Linked DNA regions of Homo sapiens: region 1 is linked to region 2. Evidence: promoter capture Hi-C in 16 types of primary human blood cells and fetal thymus (Javierre and others, 2016). All regions are on one chromosome and are shown on one strand. Each heading gives the region's core, a stretch centred on a gene start or on the middle of the fragment in contact. The rest is flanking DNA. Distances are from core to core; before and after follow the strand shown. Region 1 overlaps MICU2 (mitochondrial calcium uptake 2). Region 2 holds the start of LATS2 (large tumor suppressor kinase 2).

What was found. The method cuts DNA at HindIII sites, captures the fragments that hold promoters and counts their contacts. A CHiCAGO score of 5 or more calls a contact.
Region 1: a contact is called between a fragment that was not itself captured here and the fragment with the promoter of LATS2 in region 2, in 1 of 17 cell types (total B cells). The highest score is 5.5, in total B cells.

Annotation. Positions count from the first base shown.
Region 1 is chr13:21,496,953-21,502,708 of GRCh38, forward strand. The region is part of intron 9 of MICU2 (mitochondrial calcium uptake 2); the gene reads right to left. Among named protein-coding and RNA genes, the nearest start is that of ZDHHC20, 41 kb to the left of the region's middle. The HindIII fragment of the contact is 9,764 bases long and covers 1-5,756 here.
Region 2 is chr13:21,060,171-21,066,018 of GRCh38, forward strand. It overlaps LATS2 (large tumor suppressor kinase 2), which reads right to left and starts at 1,416. Exons shown (of 8, transcript NM_014572.3): 1 at 1,176-1,416. RefSeq lists an enhancer at 1-775 and silencers at 281-690, 831-1,630. The HindIII fragment of the contact is 13,546 bases long and covers 1-5,848 here.

The sequences.
Region 1 (5,756 bases), core at 499-2,998, 440 kb after region 2:
TTGGGAGGCTGAGGCAGGAGAATGGTGTGAACCCAGGAGGCAGAGCTTGCAGTGAGCCGAGATCACGCCACAGCACTCCAGCCTGGGCGACAGAGCGAGACTCTGTCTCAAAAAATACATAACAAACAAACAAACAAACGGGCTGGGTGCTGTGGCTCATGTCTAATCCTAGCACTTTGGGAGGCCAAGGCAGGCAGATCACCTGAGGTCAGCAGTTCAAGACCAGTCTGGTCAACATGGTGAAAAAGAAAAAAAAAAAAAAATTAGCTGGGTGTGGTGGTGCACACCTGTAGTCCCAGCTATTTGGAAGGCTGAGGCAGGAGAATTGTTTAAACCCGTGAGGCGGAGGCTACAGTGAGCCAAGATCGCGCCACTGCACTCCAGCCTGGGTGATGGAGTGAGACTCTGTGTAAAAACAAACAAATAAATAAAAAAGTTAAAAGAAAACTCAGTTTTTTCCATTAAAACAATAAAAGCTGGGTACGGTGGTTCCTGACTGCAATCACAGCACTTTGGAAGGCTGAGGTGGCCGGACTGCCTGAGCTCAGGAGTTGGAGACCAGACTGGGCAACATGGTGAAACCCCCATCTCTACAAAAAATACAAAAATTAGCCAGGCACGGTGGCATGTGCCTGTGGTCCCAGCGACTGAGGAGGCTTAGGCAGAAGGATCCCTTGAGCACAGGAGTTTGAGGTTATAGTGAGCTAACTGCACCACTGCACTTCAGCCTGGGCAACAGAGCAAGACCCTGTCTCAAAAACAAACAAACAAAACAAAAGTAAACAAAGTATGAAAATTCTCTTAGTTTTTATCTTGTTTTTGAGATAGTGTTTCACTCTGTGACCCAGGCTGGAGTCCAGATCACAGCTCACTGCAGCCTTGAAATTCTGGGTTCAAGCTATCCTCCTGCCTCAGTCTCCCAAGTAGCTGGGACTACAGACACAGAGCACCACACCCAACTAATGTTTTTATTTCTGTTTTTAGTAGAGACGAGATCTCGCTATGTTTCTCAGGCTGGTTTCAAACTCCTGGGCTCAAGTGATCCTCCCACCTTAGCCTCAGAAAGTGCAGGGATTACAAGTGTCAGCCATTGTGTCCAGCTAAAAATTCTTAATTTGAAAGTAAATTCTTCCCTGCCTGAAAAAAAAAGTTTCTCTTTGTAGGATGCTGAGGATCATGCCCTCTGTAATGTGTGGTCTTACTCAAGGTTCACTGGTTTCCAGCTTTTGTGACTTCATGAAATTTTTATTTTTAAATATTTCAATAAAGTTTTTGAAAAAGTAATATGTGCACATGGTTAAAAATTCAAACAACATGAAGGATAAATGATGAAGAGTTCTTCCACTCTGATTCCCAGTTCCATTCCCCAGACATGAGTTACCAATTCCTTGTGTCTCCATCCAGAAATATCCTATTCTTTTTTTTTTTTTTTTTTTTTTTTTTTTTGAGACAGTCTCGCTCTGTCACCCAGGCTGAAGCGCAATGGCGCAATCTTGGCTCACTGCAACCTCTGCTTCCCAGGTTCAAGCAATTCTCCTGTCTCAGCCGCCTGAGTAGCTAGGACTGCAGGCACCCACCACCACGTCCGGCTAATTTTTGTATTTTCAGTAGAGATGGGGTTTCACCATATTGGTCAGGCTGGTCTCAAACTCCTGACCTCAGGTGATTCACCCACCTCAGCCTCCCAAAGTGCTGGGATTACAGGCGTGAGCCACCGCGCCTGGCTAATATTCTATTCTTATTAAAGTGTATACATGTACACACACGTCTCCTTGTTTTACACAATGGGAACAATCTCTTCACATATTTCTGTACCTTGCTTTATTCTCTTAACAGTATATTTACAAGATGATAGAGAGGGAAAAAAGGAAAAAAAAAAACCAGTGTATTTATCAGCACAAATAAGAGTGGCTGCTTCTATCATGACCTCGAAGTAGGCACTGGATGCAACTTTTTTGATGTCTGCTTTTCTGATAGATGAAAAATGGTATTTTATTAATGTTTGAATTTGCATGTCTTACGGAGTCTTGCTGTGTTGCCCAGTCTGGAGTGCAGTGGCGTGATCTTGGCTCACCAGAACCTCCGCCTCCCTCATTCAAGCGATTCTTCTGCCTCAGCCTCCTGAAAAGCTGTGATTACAGGCATGCGCCACCACGCCCCGCTAATTTTTGTATTTTTAGAAGAGACGGGGTTTCACCATGTTGACCAGGCTGGTCTCAAACTCCCGGCCTCAGGTGATCCACCTGCCTCGGCCTCCCAAAGTGCTGGAATTACAGGTGGGAGCCATAGGCCCGGCCTGAATTTGCATGTCTTCAATTGTGAATGAAGTTAAACATTTTTCACATGCTTATTAGTCATTTGTGGATTTCTCTTCTTGTGTCCTGTTTATGTCCTTTGCCCAGATTTCTAATGGGTTGTTAGGTAACTTACTGTGCGAGACCGTTCTCCATGGGTCTCACATTTCTTTTTTTTTTTGAGATGGAGTCTCGCTCTGTCACCCAGGCTGGAGTGCAGTAGCACAATCTCGGCTCCCTGCAAACTTCACCTCCTGGGTTCACACCAATTCTCCTGCCTCTGCCTCCCGAGTAGCTGGGACTACAGGCACCCGCCACCACGCCTGTCTAATTTTTTGTATTTTTAGTAGAGATGGGGTTTCACCATGTTAGCCAAGATGTTCTCAATCTTCTGACCTCATGATCTGCCCGCCTCGGCCTCCCAAAGTGCTGGGATTACAAGTTTGAGCCACCGTGCCCAGCTGGGTCTCACGTTTCTGTACATCTATCAGAGGCACCGACTGCATTTTTGTTCCAGATTATATCTTCGAGGATTTCACACCTGTAATCCCAGCACTTTGGGAGGCCGAGAGTTTGGGACCAGCCTGGCCAACAACACAGTGAAACCCATCTCTACTAAACATACAAAAATTGCGAGGCATGGTGGTATGCGCCTGTAATCCCAGCTACTCAGGAGGCTGAGGCAGGAGAATTGTTTGTATAGCGGACAGCACTGTTCCTCAGGAGCACAGGACAGCTTTGCTTACTGTCCAGTATCATGAATACACAATGCCTCCCACTGCAGCAAAGCTCAGGAAGGCTTGTTTACTTGCCCATTACAAAACATTCAGATCACTAAGATGAGGGTCCTCAGCTGTGATGTGAATCTGCTGTGTGGGCAGCATCTACCTGGGCCTCTCAGCATCATGCCCATGGGGCTTGGGAGGCAAGGGGGAACTGACACAAATATGTTACTCATGTTGTTGCTACATTACGATAATAAAATTCTTTGTGTCTGACTCAATAGTCTTGTATCTTCTGCAAGCATCCATGAAACTGTGCAGGCTAACCTGCAAAGGGATAAAATTTCAGACACTTTACAGTTATTCACATGTTGATTTTCAAGTTCTCATGATATATTAAATAGGGAAAAAAAAATCTCAGACCGTTTAAAGTTCTTGATACCTACTGATTTTTTTTTTTTTTTTTTTTTTTTTTTTTTTGAGACAGAGTCTCACTGTTGCCCAGGTGTGACCTTGGCTCACTGCAACCTTTGTCTCCCAGGTTCATCCAATTCTCCCGCCTCAGCCTCCTGAGTAGCTGGGACTACAGGTGTGTGGCACCATGCCCGGCTACTTTTTTTTGTATTTTTTGGTAGAGATGGGGTTTCACCATGTTGGCCCGGCTAGTCTCGAACTCCTGACCTTGAGAGAGCCACCCACCTTGGCCTCCCAAAGTGCTGGGATTACAGGAATGAGCCACCACGCCCGGCCAATCCCTACTGATTTTTAAAGATCCCATTATAAATTAAGAAAATTGGTCTTTACATATCAATATCTCCCCCTTCTTCATGTTAACTTTTTATTTTGACTCTCATTATAATTTTTGCAGGGGACGAGGTGAGGCAACAGATTTTAATTTTTAGGTATTTCATCAAGTTTTCTTTGAAAGGTTTTGGGTTTTGCTTAGAAAGGTATATAACCTAAGATGAAACATTGTTTCCATGTTTTCTTCTACACTTACTCAGTTTCATTTTTTCAACATTTAATTTTTTGATTCATCCTAAATTTATTTTAGAGTAATGAATGGTGTAAAGATTTATGTTCATTTTCTCCCTCAGATGGCCAGTGAATTATCCTACTGCCATTTATTAATAATTCTTTTACCCAACTAATTTAAAATACTATTTCATAATTACTAAATTTTTCATATGCTTAAGTCTATTTCTGGAGTCTGTCAAATTCATTGTCAGTAACAAACTGTTTTAGTTACCAAGGTTTGATAATATATTTTAATATGTTGACATTCTTTTCATATAAAGTCTTTTTTTTTTTTGACACAGAGTCTTGCTCTGTCACCCAGGCTGGAGTGCAGTGGCGCAATCTCAGCTCACTGAAAGCTCTGCCTCCAGGGTTCACACTATTCTCCTGCCTCAGCCTCCCGAGTAGCTGGGACTACAGGCACCTGCCACCATGCCTGGCTAATTTTTTGTATTTTTAGTAGAGACGTGGTTTCACCGTGTTAACCAGGATGGTCTTGATCTCCTGACCTCATGATCTGCCCGCCTTGGCCTCCCAAAGTGCCAGGATTACAGGCGTGATCATATAAAGTTTTATAGCTTGTCTAGTTTCTTCCCAATAATTCAATGGTATTTTTATTGAAACCCACGAGTATTCACCAGTATCTGGATCTTTTCTGATTCCTGCACGTACGAAAGACTGAAGTTCCTTGCCTCCCTGCATTCAGGTGGGGTTATGTGATTAGTCTGGCCAATAGCCAAGTGTCATGTGATGTTTCCAGGCCAAAACATTTAGTTGCTGGATTTTGACTCCCCTCCTTCTTTTCCTGCCACAGCCTCTGAGCGTGGTACTTCTTTCAGATGATGTAACTCCAAGATGGCACAGCCTCAGAGAGTCTAGACCTCTGAATGGGTCTAGACCTCTATGCGGACAGAGACTCCTATCAGCCCACAATGGAACTGCGGCATGACTGAGCAAGAAACTCAGTGTCAGACAGGGGGATTTCAGGGTTAATTTGTAACTGCAGTAAACTTGGGCTGTTCTAATATAACCATTACACTTATAGACTAACTGAAGACAGAATTGCTGTATTTATAATTCTAAGACTTTCTATTCAATAATAGGGGATGTCTTATAATTAGATAAGTTTTCTTTTTATATCCATCAAGGCTATCAAGTTTTCTTCTTTTTTTTTGTTAAATTTATTTCTAATTGTTATATATTTATCTTGCAGTTATAACTGGGTTCTTCTACTGCAATTTATTTTTTTCTTACAATAGAAGTAACTTTTTAAAAAGTTACATAAAATACATGTCCATTGTAAACATTTTTTTGGAACAATACATAAAGGTATAAAGAAAGAAAGTAAAAATCACTTGAAACCTCACCACTGTACATGAATAATTATTAATAGCTTGGCAATCATCATTTCATACATCTCGTATATATATACACACACATATGCATGTCATTACATTTTCTACTTGTAATTTGTATATAGGAGAGCTGCTGCTGCTTATATATTAGCATTGTGACAGGTACTTTATTGAATTCTTATTGTTTCTACGGTTTTTCTACTGGATTCTCTTGGGTTCTCTAGGCATATAATTGCATCATATAAAAACAAAGACAACTACTACCCCCTTTCACATTTTTATACTCTTTTAAATAATCTTGTTAATTTGGACTGGTTAAGATTTACAGAGTGATATTAAATAACAGTAGTGATACTTGTCTTATTCTT
Region 2 (5,848 bases), core at 166-2,665:
CCCTCGGGACACTGGAGACTTGCATTTCACAAACGGGTTTGCTCCAGGCCGCACTCCATCCCCGAGGGAAAGCTCCCCAGAAGTTCTGGAGTTGGGCTGAAGGATGTGATGGCAAGATGTGAATGATGTCAGAATCCCCATCTCCAGAGTCCGGCTGGGGAGCTAAGCGCAGGTGAGCTTACATCAGAAGAGAAAGCCAAACCCCCCACACGTCGCTAAACTAGGGCACGGGAATGGCGTGTTATGCAACGGCCGCCGTTCGCGTGGCCACGAAAGCGCTCCTGCGCCTCGGGCCGCGTCCCGCCAAGACCGTGAGCAAACTCGCAGAGTTGGCGCGGCAGCCGGCCGGGAGACGCCGAGCAGGGCCTGGCCGCCCGCAGCCCGGGAGGAACGGCGCCCCCAGGGTCCGGTGGCCTCTGAGGGGCTGACTGGCCCGTGAGCCGGCGGCGCGGCCGCGGGGAACGGGGTGGGAACCGCGCGGCAGTGGGTGAGGCGGCGCAGCCACCGGGGGCTGAGGGGCGGCGCGGCCTCGACTGCGGCACCGCCGTGGGTCCGTCGGCTCGCGGGACGACGGGGCGGCCGGCGGGGGCCAACAGGGCGGGCTCTGAAGGACTGATTGGCCCGTGGGACGATGGCGCGGCCGGGAGGATGGCCCCGGATCCGTGGGACCGCTGCGCCGCCGGACCGGGGGTCCCGAGGCTGTCAGGGGCGCCCGGCCGGGCGTCTAGTGAAAAGCCGATCCCCCGGAGACAGCGGAAGCAGAGGCGCGCCCGGCGCTACGGCCTTTCGGGTCTAGGACACCGCCCCCGGCCCGCGCCGCCCCTGCCCCGCCGGGATCCCGGCCGCCCCGGTCGCCGCACAACAAAGCGGCGCAGCCCCGCTGCCCCCGCCCGACGCCGGCCTCCAACTTCCCCGGCTCCTCTGGAACCGGCTCCGCGGGCTCCGTACGGCCTGGACTACGAGCCGCCGGGCGGGGGCGGCTCCGGGCGGGCGCGGACCGTGGGGGCAGGGCGCAGGGCTCCGTCCGGACAAACTTCCTCGGCCGCCCCGCCGGGCGCCCTTCCCGGAGCCTCGGCACCACAGTAGGTGCGCGGAGCCGCAGGGCTCGACCGCTTCGCGGAAACTCTCGCCACCCTCCGAGCTGCCGCCCCGACCCCAGCTCCCAGCCCCCTCACCTCCAGGGGCGCGGTCTACACCCTCGGGGGCGTCCTGGCCGGCGGCTCCCGGGCCTCTCGCGCCGGGAGACCGGGCACTGGTGGCTGGAGCTGCTGCTGGCCCCGCAGGGACGGGGGAGCCCCGGGCGGCGGCGGTGGCGTGGACGGCGACTGCTCCATCTTCCCGGGGCGCTCACGCCGCGGTTCCAAAGCGCAGACCCAAGTGGGACATTCGCTACATTGTTGGCATTCCACGGGCGTCACGTGACCCCGCCTCCCGCGTCACTCTCGGCCGCATACCAGTCCGGGCGGGGCGCCTGCGGCCCCTGCTCCTCCGCGGCCGCTCCGCCCAGCCCCGCCCGGCCGTGCTTCCTGCCTCCGGCCTCGACCGCCACCTGCCCACGGCCTCCCTGCTGGCCTGCGGTAGCTCGCCAGGGCCTCTCGGACCTATTTGACTGGCTGCTATCTGCCCCCAAACTTGAGTATTTGCCCTCTCGACTGCATTTGTATTAAAAGTTGGTAACTGTCGTTAAAGCCACTATTCTTAAGTATCTCATACCAGTCTTGGTGAAAGAAAAAAAAAAGTTAGCAGGCCTGAAGGAGCCACCAAGTTACCAACTAGTGGCTGGACACTAAAAATAGGGGCAGAAAAGGACAGACGGCTATTGGGACAGTGGAATCAAACAATTAAGAAGGACGTTTGCCAGAAGCGGTGGCTCACGCCTGTAATCCCAGCACTTTGAGAGGTCTAGGCGGGTGGATCACCTGAGGTCGGGAGTTCGAGACCAGCCTGACCAACTTGGAGAAACCCCCGTCTCTATTAAAAATACAAAATTAGCCAGGCGTGGTGGCTCATGCCTGTAATCCCAGCTCTTCGGGAGGCTGAGGCAAGAGAATCACTGGAACCCGGGAGGCGGAGGTTGCGGTGACCTGAGATCGCATCATTGCACTCCAGCCTAGGCAAGAAGAGCAAAACTCCGTCTCAAAAAAAAAAAAAAAAGAACGTCTGATGCACACCCAAATTTAACCTGATTTAATTTAATCAACCTCCCCTCCCCATGTATATTTTCTTTCTGAGAAGTATTTTATGGTGTAGGGAATAGTATAGTACCGTATATACCAGCAAGTGAGGTCGTGGGTTTTGAACAGCTTCACTATCCATTTGAGGACTGTGGATCTGGTACAGGGACAGAAGCAGGGATGGTGCAAAGATTCACAGTAGAAATAATAGACTGGAAGCCAAATCCTCAGTCTACTTCTGGCTCTCCTAACATCATACTTCCTACCACCTATATCTGTGGCAAGTGATGCTGAGGGTCAATATAGTGTTTAAAGTCAACTCGATTTCCTCTTTAATTGACAAACTCTTGTGAAATTTTTAAATTTTACTCTCATGGGAAACAGTAGTAAAGGTCATTATCTGTGCACTATTTTGACAGTCTCACCCAGCCTTCAGTCCCTGGTTCATCCTCCTCCCCTCCCTCTCTTTCAATCTCTTAAGGCCTCAGCTCTTCCAGGGAATCTTCTCAGATCTCTGTTTTCTCTCTTCTTTGGGCTCTGATAATCAAACCGTAATCCCTTCCTGCCAGCAGAAGTGTGCAAAAAAAAAAAAAAGAAACCATCATCGTGCAGCTTAGAATTCAATTTAATTTTTCGATAGTATCCTGTATGCTACCCAGATATCTTGCACAGTACTGGGAGCAAAATAAGTCTCCAGCCAATATTCTGCAATTGAGCCCTACTGGCATTACCTATGTACTTTTCCACATTTTTTCCTTTTTTTCTTAGAGACAGAGTCTCACTCCATTGCCCACGCTGGAGTGCAGTGGCACAATCATAACTTACTGCAGCCCACATCAGCCTTGAACTCCTGAGCTCAAGCCATCCTCCTGCCTCAGCCTCTAGGGTAGCTGGGAACACAGGCGCACACCACCATGCTTGGCCTTCTTTTCACTCTTAAGCTGACTATACTTTCTCCACCCCAACCCCAAGCCACATGGCTGCTAATCTTTTTTTGTTGTGTGTTTAAAGATCCTGCTCCTGCTCTGCCTTCAAAGATGTAAAAATAATTTTTAAAACACTTGTGGAATGAAAAATATTATAAAATAGATTTAATGGACCTTAAAATTTGTGCATAAAATACCTAATAAAAATGTTGCAGTTACAATGATCATTTCAGCATTGTTTGCAGTAGTGAAAAATTGAGAAAAACCCCAAATGTCCAGTCAAGGGGTAGGAAAATGAAAGGTAGATATCCAAATGATGGAATATACACAGTAGCTAAGTTAATGAACTAGCTCTGTAGTTGTAAAGGATAAATGATGGTAGAAAGAATTCAAAAGCACTGTGGAGTGAAAAAAAGCAAGTTGCAGAACTATATATATACACTGTGATACCATATTTATAAATAATCAAAATCCCACAGAACCTAAAATGATCACATACTTTATATAAGTATAGACATAGAATGCAATATCACACACACCAAATTCATGACAGCTGTTGTTTATATTAGAGGGAAGGAGGGAAATTGAGCAGAGAAAAAAAATGAAGACTTCAACTTTACAATGCTTTCTTTTATTTAAAAAACGGAAATAAAACTCAAAATCTTAAAAGTTGTTGGTTCTGGGAGGTTGGGTTCAATAATGTGTGCTATACTATTCTTTGTGCCTTTTTTAAAAAACATTAAAAATTTTAAATTTTATATATATATATGAATACAGACAAATTGGAAACAAGTTTCCAAGATAGGGGCTTGGTTGGGAAAGCTGACACGCTCACATGGAAGAATGTTGTGATTAACGATTTGTGTTTATTAACATGCAGTCATTCATTCCTTCTCATTTTTGTTTGTTGTTGTATGTTTGGGTTTTTGTTTTGTTTTCTGTTTTGTTATCGGTACCTGCTATGAACCATGTGCTAAAATTAAAAAACCCATGTTTGGGTTTTTGTTTTGTTTTGTTTCTGTTTTGTTTTGTTATTGGTACCTGCTATGAGCCATGTGCTAAAATAAATCATACTTGGGATAACATGGTAAGCAAAACCATAAGATTTATCCCCTGATGGGGTTTATAGTGTGGTAGAGGTAGAGGTGTTCAAGAAAAACACATGCTGGGCATGGTGGCTCATGCCTGTAATCCCAGCACTTTGGGAAGCTGAGATGGGTGGATCACTTGAGGCCAGGAGTTCGAGACCAGCCTAGCCAACAGAGTAAGATCCCATCTCTACTAAAAACAAAAAAAAGAAAGGAAAAACAGCAACAATATAAGTTTATTTTATATGTATATACAATAAACTATGTACACATGTATATTTTTTAAACTATTTTTAAAGCCCAGAAAATTACACAGCCAAATGTTAAAAGTGGTAGTCTCTGGATGTAGTGTAGTGATTCTGAATGGTTTTGTCTTATACTTCCTGATACTTCTATAGTAGGATAGTTAACATAATTTTTTTTCTTTTTTTCTTTTTCTTTTTTTTTTTTTGAGATGGAGTCTTGCTCTGTCGCCCAGGCTGGAATGCAATGGTGAGATATCAGCTCACTGCAACCTTGCAACCTCCATCTCCCGGGTTCAAGCAATTCTCCTGCCTCATCCTCTGGAGTAGCTGAGATTATAGGCATGCTCCACCATGCACGGCTAATTTTTGTATTTTTAGTAGAGATGGGGTTTCACCATGTTGGCCAGGCTGGTCTCGAAATCCTGACCTCAGGTGATCTGCCTGCCTTGGCCTCCCAAAGTGCTGGGATTACAGGCTTCAGCCACCATGCCTGGTCCAGAAAATGTTTTAAAGTTAATCAGTTAAATAAGCACATCTACATAATGTATCTAGCTGAGAAGAGGAGAAAAAGAGACAACACAAGACCAGCTGAGCATAGAGCGGACAGTAGTAACAAAATTGGAGTGTATAAATTAACTGACATAGTATATACATATGTGTATGTGTGTGTCCTTATTCTATACCAAGTATTGCTCTAAATTTGTATATTATATCATTTAATTCTCAAAACGACCATGTTATTCAACCCATTTTATAAAAAAGGATCCTGAAATGCAGACGGCTCAAGTAACTTGTCCAAGATCAAAGAGCAGAGATTCAGACCTTCATAGATCTAACTCCAGAGATTGGAAACACTGAATTATAATGCCCTCTCTAGATAATCTCAAGAAGTCATGAGGCTGGGCATGGTGGCTCACGCCTGTAATCCCAGCACTTTGGGAAGCTGAGGCTGGTGGATCATGAGGTCAGGAGTTCGGGACTAGCCTGGCCAAAATGGTGAAACCCTGTCTCTACTAAAAATACAAAAATTAGCTGGGCGTGGTGGCAGGCACCTGTAATCCCAGCTACTCGGGAGGCTGAGGTAGGAGAATTGCTTGAACCCAGAAGGTGGAGGTTGCAGTGAGTGGAGACCAAGCCACTGCACTCTAGCCTGGACAACAGAGCAAGACTTCATCTCAAAAAAAAAGTAAAAAAAAAGGCACATGATTACAACATACTCATAAGTAAGGAAACTGAAAACAAATTACTCCCTTATACTTCCTCTGAAAGGGGAATGGACTTTGTGGAGTGAGGAAGAGGGGAACTCAGAGACTTGTGTCTCCAGCCTCAACCAAAGCAGAGAACGATTCCAGGCCTAGCAGACACAGAGAATCCACTTGCTTGTGAGGCCTCTGCAGTTGTGAAGCCAGGATAGT